Regions from separate parts of the Homo sapiens genome. Here regions 1 and 3 are each linked to region 2. Evidence: promoter capture Hi-C in human tissues and cell types (Jung and others, 2019). All regions are on one chromosome and are shown on one strand. The core of a region is centred on a gene start or on the middle of the fragment in contact, and the rest is flanking DNA. Distances in the headings are between cores, read along the strand shown.

Evidence for each region. Contacts are between HindIII fragments. The study calls those that stand out against the background at their distance.
Region 1: a contact is called between a fragment that was not itself captured here and the fragment with the promoter of TCF15 in region 2, in 5 of the 25 tissues and cell types used here (IMR-90 fibroblasts, heart left ventricle, heart right ventricle and 2 more).
Region 3: a fragment that was not itself captured here is called in contact with the fragment with the promoter of TCF15 in region 2 in 1 of the 25 tissues and cell types used here (spleen).

Annotation. Positions count from the first base shown.
Region 1 is chr20:644,048-646,747 of GRCh38, forward strand. SRXN1 (sulfiredoxin 1) reads right to left here. Exons shown (of 2, transcript NM_080725.3): 2 at 2,568-2,700. Among named protein-coding and RNA genes, the nearest start is that of SRXN1, 7.8 kb to the right of the region's middle. The HindIII fragment of the contact is 4,587 bases long and covers 1-2,700 here.
Region 2 is chr20:608,912-611,611 of GRCh38, forward strand. TCF15 (transcription factor 15) reads right to left here and starts at 1,398. Exons shown (of 2, transcript NM_004609.4): 1 at 802-1,398. The coding sequence starts at 1,326. RefSeq lists silencers at 1,316-1,485, 1,496-1,605 and an enhancer at 2,305-2,700. The HindIII fragment of the contact is 16,586 bases long and covers 1-2,700 here.
Region 3 is chr20:567,324-570,023 of GRCh38, forward strand. No RefSeq gene overlaps it. Among named protein-coding and RNA genes, the nearest start is that of CSNK2A1, 25 kb to the left of the region's middle. The HindIII fragment of the contact is 6,383 bases long and covers 1-2,700 here.

The DNA.
Region 1 (2,700 bases), core at 84-2,583, 35 kb after region 2:
GCCGGGAGTTGAAAATCAGCCTGATAAACATTGTGAGACCTCATCTCTACAAAAGAAAAATAAAAAATTAGCTGGGTGTGGTGACACACACCTGTAATCCCAGCTACTCAGGAGGCTAAGTGGGAGGATTGCTTGAACCCAGAAGTTGGAGGCTGCAGTGAGCCACGATGGTGCCACTGCATACTCCAGCCTGGGTGGTAGAGCAAGATCCTGTCTTAAAAAAAAAAACAAAAAAAGCAGACACAGAAGAAAATTTGGGAGAGTGTGACAAATGCCATGAAGAAAATAAAACTGGATAAAGGGACGGAATGATGGGGGAGGGGGCTGTTTTAGACGCTATGGTTGGGAAGGCCCCTGAAGAAGTGACATTTGGGCACAGACCAGAATGAGGGAGACTGGGAGACAGGCACGCACGAATGGGATGGACGGCTGGGGCACAGTGCCAAGGGAGAAAAGCAATCCACAAAACAGCGCAAAAAAAGAAAACATTTTTTACTTAAACGCACATTCATTACTATTAAATTAGATAAGAGTCTGGGAGGCTCTATGCCAAATTCATAAAGGTAACTGTCCCAAGAGGGCAAAGGAATAATCAGGACTAGGTTTTGTGGTGGGCTTCCGCTTGCCTCTAATACTTTAAATTTCTAATATTTAATTATTTAACATTTTAATATTTTAATGTTTAAACGGTAAATATGGCTGAATGCAGTGGCTCATGCCTGTAATATCATACTTTGGGAGGCCAAGGCGGGAGGATCACTTGAGGCCAGGAGTTGGAGACCAACCACCCCAGGCAACAGAGCAAGACCTGGTCTCTATAAAACGTTAAAAACAAAATTAGCTGGGTGTGGTGGTGCCTGTAGTCCTAGCTACTCGGGAGGCTGAGGCAGGAGGATGGCTTGAGCCCAGGAGTTTGAGGTTGCAGTGAGCTATAATCAGAACATTGCGTGCCAGCTTTGGTAACAGAGCAAAACCCCATCACAAACAAACGAACAAACACATTTTAAAAAGTAAATATACTTATATAAAACTTGTGAAATGGCTGGGCATGGTGGCTCACACCTGTAATCCCAGTGCCTCGGGAGGCCGAGGCGGACAGATCACCTGAGGCCAAGAGTTCAAGGTCAGCCTGGCCAACATGGTGAAACCCCATTTCTACTAAAACAACAACAACAAAAAGCCTTGTGAAATGAAAACAAAAAAAAAAAAAAAAAGGAAATTTAAATCTACCACGGTCAAGTGGGTGGGTTCCAGGGCGGTGAAGGCACATACTGCCTTTCACTGGAGCCAAGTTCCTGGGGGCAGAGGTTTTTTTGGGGAGGGACACTGTAGGTCATGGTAGCCCAGCCAGTAGGAGCCCAGAAGCTTCTTGGAGGAGGTACCACCTTTGCTGAGCCTGAGATTCTCTGGCCCAGCACCCCCAGTATAGACAGGAATGGGTAGACATGTGCGCAAGGTTACAGAACAAGAGCTGATAAATAGAACCTGAACTCCAGACTCATCCCGGCTGAACCCGGGTTAACTATCCCGCCTCTTTCAGCCCTGCGCGTGCATCCAGCCCCTTCCCACAGCTGTAGCTCTTGCAGGCCAGAGGGACGGCCCTGCCGCGGGGGCCGGAGAGCAGCGCCACCTGCTGCTGTAAGAGGGAAACGCAACTTCCGGCTACCAGCAGGTTACACCCTTTAAAACCCAGCTCCTCTTCCTTAAATGATCAAGCAGTACCCCTCTACTCCGAATCTGTTCTGCACCTCCTTCGCAGTGCCTGGCAGGGCCCTTAGCGCTGTCTGGTTGGGTCTTCTCTGCAAGAAGGAAAAGTTGTTTCAGGAGGGGGCGACCATCTTCACTCTCATTCCAGCCCAGCGGGCACAGGAGGAGTTTACTCACAGAAGACAGGGGCACCTCACCTTCGCTACAAACCTTAGGGGTACACAATCCATTTGACAGCCTGGAAGAAGTCCCCAGGGAAGGGACAGAACCGCCCAAGGTCACACAGTTAATGAGTAGACAAGCTGGGGGGAATGAGTAGACTCATTCCACTGGGGATGGAAGTGGGGAAGTCACCGTATTTGAAAATAACTGACGCAGTTATTAGCAGCTCTTAGCATGTGGTCCCTGAACAGCAGCATCAGCAACATCTGGGAACTTGTTAGAAAAGCAAATTATCAGGCCCTGCCCCAACTCGCCTCAATCAGAAACTCTGGGGGGCCGGGGGCAGTGGCCATGTCTGTAATCCCAGCACTTTGGGAAGCTGAGGCGGGAGAATCGCTTGTGCCCAGGAGTTTAGGACCAGCCCAGAGAACACAGCAAAACCCTGTCTCTACAAAAAAATGAGAAGGGCGCACCTGTAGTCCCAGCTACTCAGGAGGTTGACGTGGGAGGATCACTTAAGCCCCGGGAGGTCAAGGCTGCAGTGAGTCATGATCGTGCCACTGCACTCCAGCCTGGGTGACAGGGCATGACCCTGTCTCAAAAAAAAAAGAAAGTGGGGGTGGGGCCCAGCAATCTGGTATTTAGCAAACAAGCTTGAGACCCTGAACCATTGGTCTAAAGGAATTGCACACCCCCCCTTTTTTTTTTTAAATTAAATAAACTTTTATTTTGGAATGATACTAGATTTACAGAGAAGTTGCAGAGATAGTACAAAGAGTTCCTGTATACCCTTCACCCAGCCTACCCCAAGGTCAACATCTTACATCACCA
Region 2 (2,700 bases), core at 148-2,647:
ACCTCTGCTGCCACACAGCCCCCGCCCACCCCTACCAGCCTGATCCACTTTCTTGCCCAGGACACATTGCAGGAGCTGCACACCAGCTCCCTCCAGCTGACCCAAGAGTGCCCTCTCCCAACACCACGTCCTTTTGGGGGCTGGGGACTCTCAGAGGGCCCCTTCTTCACTCCTACTGCTCATCCGCTGGGTACCTCAGGCTCTCGGTTGGCGGTTTGTGGCCTCCTTTCTTCTCAGTCTCCTGCTCTTGGGTTAGATCTTAGGACAGGGGACAATTATTTCAAGGTGGGGGCAACACACACCGGGCAAGCCCAGGGCCAGCGCCCCGGCTTCCCAGCTGAGTAAATGTGGGCAGGTGATCCCATCTCTGATGCTCAGATCCTCATCAGGATAAAATGGGCAGAAAAACTACCTGCCTGAAGGGATTCTTGTGAAGGCAAAAAAGTGGATGTGGAGCGCATCGGCACAGAGGAAGACTCCATAAAAGATGGGTCTTTGTTACTCAGTCCTCATGCCGTCTTCCCAGCAGGAAGGAAGTTCCAGCACACCTTTCGTTGGAGGGGATATCCCACACTGAGCAGTTAAATCAGACCCGAACTCTGGGTTTTCCCGCATCCTTCTGTTTGGGGGCCTGGGCATTAAGTCAGTGGTTCTGGGCTTGGGGTGCCGCACCCAGCACGAATTCCACGTCGCTTCCCCCTGGCCTCGTTGGGGACCCCTGCACCTCTCCGGTTCCCGCAGAGGCGCTGCCCCCCGCCTACCCCGACCTGGCGGCCGCAGCGAGGGACGCAGCACACTCACCCCCTTGCGCTGGTTGCTGAGGCAGAAGGTGCAGATGGAGCGCGGCTGGCGGCCGCCGTCGGCGGCGGCGGGGACGGCGCCCTTGGCACTGCCCGCGGCACGGAAGCACGGCTGCCCGTCGTCGGCCGAGTCGCCCAGCAGCAGCACGTTGGCCAGGTGCGCGATGTAGCTGGACGCCAGGCGCACGGTCTCGATCTTGGACAGCTTGCGGTCCACCGGCTCGGTGGGGATGAGCGTGCGCAGCGCCGTGAAGGCCGTGTTCACGCTCTGAGTGCGGTCCCGCTCCCGCGCGTTGGCCGCCTGCCGCTGTCGCACCACCACCACGGGGCCCGCGCCGCCGCCGCCGCCCGCCCGCCGCCCGCCCCCGGGGCCCGGGCCGCGCCGCGCCGCCTCCGGGCCCTCGCAGCAGCCGAACGACTGGTCCGACGCGTCGCTCTCGCTGCGGTTCTCCTCGTCCTCGCTCAGCAGCCGCACGTCCGGGTACAGCACGTGCGCGCCGACGGGCCGCAGCAGCGCGAACGCCATGGGCGCCGGCCGCGTCCCTCCGTGCGCCGCGTCCCAGCGTCGGCCGCGCCCCGCCGTGCGCTCCCGCGCGCTCCCACGGCCCCGCCGGCCCCCGCCTTATAGGCGAGGGAGGGGCCAATGGCAAGGCCGCCCCGGCCGGGGGCGGAGGGCTCCGCCCGGCCAATGGGGAGGCGTCCGCCCGGCCAATGGGGAGGCGTCCGCCGCGCCCTGGCCAATGGCGACGCTCCCACCGCCTCCGTCCCCCAGGTTGAAAGCGGCCCGGGAGCCGGCGGCCCACCCCGAAGGCCCCCGTTCCCGGCTGGCTAGCCCGGCAGATGCTGGAGGTCTGGGAGGGTCGGCCGGGGTGGGCCCAGATCCGAACTTTTTGTCTCCAGCCTGGACCACCTGGGAGACGCGGGCAGATCCCTTTCTCCTCTCTGGGCCTCAGTTTCCTCGTTCGGAACGTTCAGATTGCAGAGAAACAGCTAGTGTCTGCCTGCCCTCCAATTCTAATCCTGTAGTTCTGCAGCTTTCACGTGCGTAAGAACTGGGGAAGGGGCTTTTGCTATTACAGAGTCCCAAATTGCTCCCATTCTGATTGAGCAGTTCTGGAACGGGCCCAGGAACCTACATTTTGTAACAAGCCATTGGTGATAGTGGTGGTGTCCGTGGAGAACACTTGGAGAAAAGCTATAATCTTTCCAAATGAGGATTCGACAGTGTCTTGTCCCTGAAGACAAACTTAAAAAGAAGAAGAAAAAAAAAAGCAAAACAAAACCACAATACACAAACACCAGTAGTTCGTTCGTTTTTTCAACAAATATTCGTTGGGTCCCTACTATGTGTCAGACATGGTTTTAGGTCTGAGGATACAGCCATTAACAAAATAAATTCTTCACCCTCACGGAACTGACGTTTTGGTTAAGGAACTACTGTGTACCAGACTCGGTGCTATATACTCTATTGCGCCCAGCTGAGGCTGCAGGATGGCAGCCCTGAGTTACAGGTCAGAGAGCTCCGGCCTTCAGTCGTACAGGTGGGAGTGGCGGCGCTAGCTCCAGCCTGTCCGGTTTCACTACCTCTTGGAATCCTACCACCACCATCCCATCACACACACACGGGCTATCTTTCCTCAATGCCTGCTTGCCTTCTAGAAACCTTAGATTGTTCAGCCTGACGTGTCCTCTTCAGAGAATTGCTGAGCCAAAGGTGGTTGCCGGGGTCTCGATCTCACTCGTGCCTGCTGCTCAGCTCTCTCCAGGCACTAGCTAAACCAGCATCCACTTGGCCTTGAAAATAAGCCCGAGTGGCAGCCGGTGTAGCAGACAGAGCGCAGGGAGTGGAGTTGAAAGGCTTCTAGGTGCATTTTGGCTCCTCTGGGCGTCTGTTTTCCTG
Region 3 (2,700 bases), core at 188-2,687, 42 kb before region 2:
GTAATCTTCATCAGGCCACATCCTCTCTCTGAGTCTCAGTTTTCTTTTCCTTAAATTGGAGATGAAAAAGTCTGTCTCACTTGGCAGTCAAGAAGGTCCAACAGGATAACTTCATCCATGGTGAGAGAGTGGAGGAGAGGCCCCCAGGAGGAGGCAGGGATCTCATTCTGCGGGTACTGTACTTGGTTCTGGGAGTGGGATGGCAGACAAGCGTGTCACTGTCTTTGTTCTCAGAGCTTTGGTTGTGGAACGGGAATGGGAAGGTAAGGGAGGGTACCCCTGGCAGGGGCACAGCATAAACCAGGGTGTGGAGATGGGATGGCGAGGCAGGACTGCCCCAGAACTCTGTCCCCAGGGGCTGGCAGTGCTGAGAGGGACAGAGGGAGAAGCGATTGTTTATTCTCAGCCTCAGGAGGACGCAGGAGAATCTCAGGCATCAAATTTAGTGCAGCACACCTGCCTAGGCAAAACTGGACAGCTCCACCTCAACTTTGTAGAGGGGCAGAGAAAGCTGTGGGGAACCACCTTCCTGCTCTTGTCATGAAGTCCTCCTCAACTGGAAGCCCAAGCTTCAGGCCAGGAACTTCCCCAGCAGAGGCAGCCTTCCCCAGGGGGCCAAGACCTTGGCAGAATGTCTGGGGTGCTCATGGCAGCGCCTCTCACCTGGCCCCTGCCAAATCAGTTTCTGCTTGGCCTCTGCAGGATCTGACCTCGTTGAGTCCCCAGGGCCCAGTTCTCTGCCTCTGAGGCTAAAAGTGAGATCGTTTCCTGGTTGAGGAGTGACTAAAAGACTTCTGTGTGTAGAGACTGGGTTTTGCTGTGTTGGCCAGGCTGGTCTCGAACTCCTGACCCCAAGTGATTCACCTTAAGGTGAATGTGTGGCTGTGTACGCGCACGTGCAGAGCAGAACCATCACTCTGCTTGGGCTAGGCAGCTGGACTAATCGTCCATTTCCCCCCGCCCGGAGGCCTCTTCCAGGCCCCCAGCTGCCCTGATGGGCCAGGTCAGCCCCCCCCACAGGAGCCCCCAGCCGCTCCCCATTCGGCTTTCCTTGTATTGTGCGCTGCCTGGTTTCTCGAGGAAATGGGGCGGCTGCTGGGTGCGGGGGCGGCCGCCAGCAGCCCCACCCCCTTCCCCCCATTGTCACTCCTGGCTTCTGCCCCTAGCCCCTGCTGCTGACACTAAAAATAGACCTGTTCACAGGGAGACGGCCCCACCCCTGAGCGGGGCCCCAGGCTCAGTGTCAGGTTGGGTTTGCCAAGACAGAGCTGCCCTGGGGACTGAGGTGGCTCAGCTGAAAGACCGGGGTCGAAACACGTTAGGGCTGTGTGACCTTAGGTCCCCTTTTCTCCTCTCTGAGCCTCAATTTCCTCACCTTTAAAATGGGGTAAGGCTACCTACCTGCTAAGGTTGCTCTTGACAATGAACAGAAGCTGGGTGAGTCACAAGCGCACTTCGTTCTCGTCCTGCCCGTGGTTTGGTGCTGCCTGAGCGGCTTGAGAACCTGGAGGACAGATGGCATAACACACGCCTTCATCTTCAATCTGCCTTGAATGATTGCCAAGGACTTCCAAATCCCCCTAAACAGAGGAGCTGGAAGAGCCCACTTGGGAATCCAAAAGTGTCCGCAGCTCTGCTGTGTGAGCCCGGGTAGGTGCCTCCTCTCTGGCATCCATGAGCTCACACGTGAAGTATGCAGCCAGGCTGGGACTCGAACCTGTGTCTGCAGCCTCTGAAGACTGTTTTTTCCGCTTTAAGGGGCTGCCTCCATGCTGATGACTCCAAGGACTTCCTGGCTGGGATAACCCTGCCTTTTCGTCTACAAACACATGATTCATGGTGAAGGAAGATGCTGGGCGGTGGGCATGGAAGCCTGAGCTGGGGGCTGGGTAGTTCCCCTTGAGCCCATGCAGATGGGCAGCTGTCCTCAGATGCCACCCGCAGCCATTGGGTTGGGCCCTGCAAAGGAGATACTGGCATGTGTCTGTCTACCAGGCTCTTTTTTGTTGTTGTTCCTTTGTCCTTTTTTTTAAACCATGGAATATTTCAAATATGGGTCTTTCATATACATTCAAAACCTTGAACTCTTAGAATTACTTTTGTCACAGTTGCAATTTTTTTTTAAATTTTTATTTCATTTGTCTATTTATTTTTTGAGACGGAGTCTCGCTCTGTTACCCAGGTTAGAGTGCAGTGACCTGATCTTGGCTCACTGCAACCTTCGCCTCCCAGGTTCAAGCAATTCTCCTGCCTCAGCCTTCCAAGTAGCTGGGATTACAGGCACGCACCACCATGCCCAGCTAATTTTTGTATTTTTAGTAGAGACAGGGTTTTACCATGTTGGCCAGGCTGGTCTTGAACTCCTAACCTCAGGTGATCGGTCCACCTTGGCCTCCCAAAGCGCTGGGATTACAGGTGTGAGCCAGCGTGCCTGGCCTGCAATTTGATATATGTCTATGTAATTACCTATCTCCCATTAATCCTGGGCCCTAGAACAGGGACTGAGACTTTATTATTAATCCATGTATTCCCCCCCAAAACAAATACAGTACTGTTATTCTCCCACACAGACCCTGAGAGCAAGCAGACTTGTCTCTATTGTTTGTGTTTTGGGATTTGTGGGGACACCTTGTGACCCAGTTTTGTTGTAAATCTTGTCCATGGGGTTTTGGTTTTGCTACCTAATTGCTTTGCCAATTT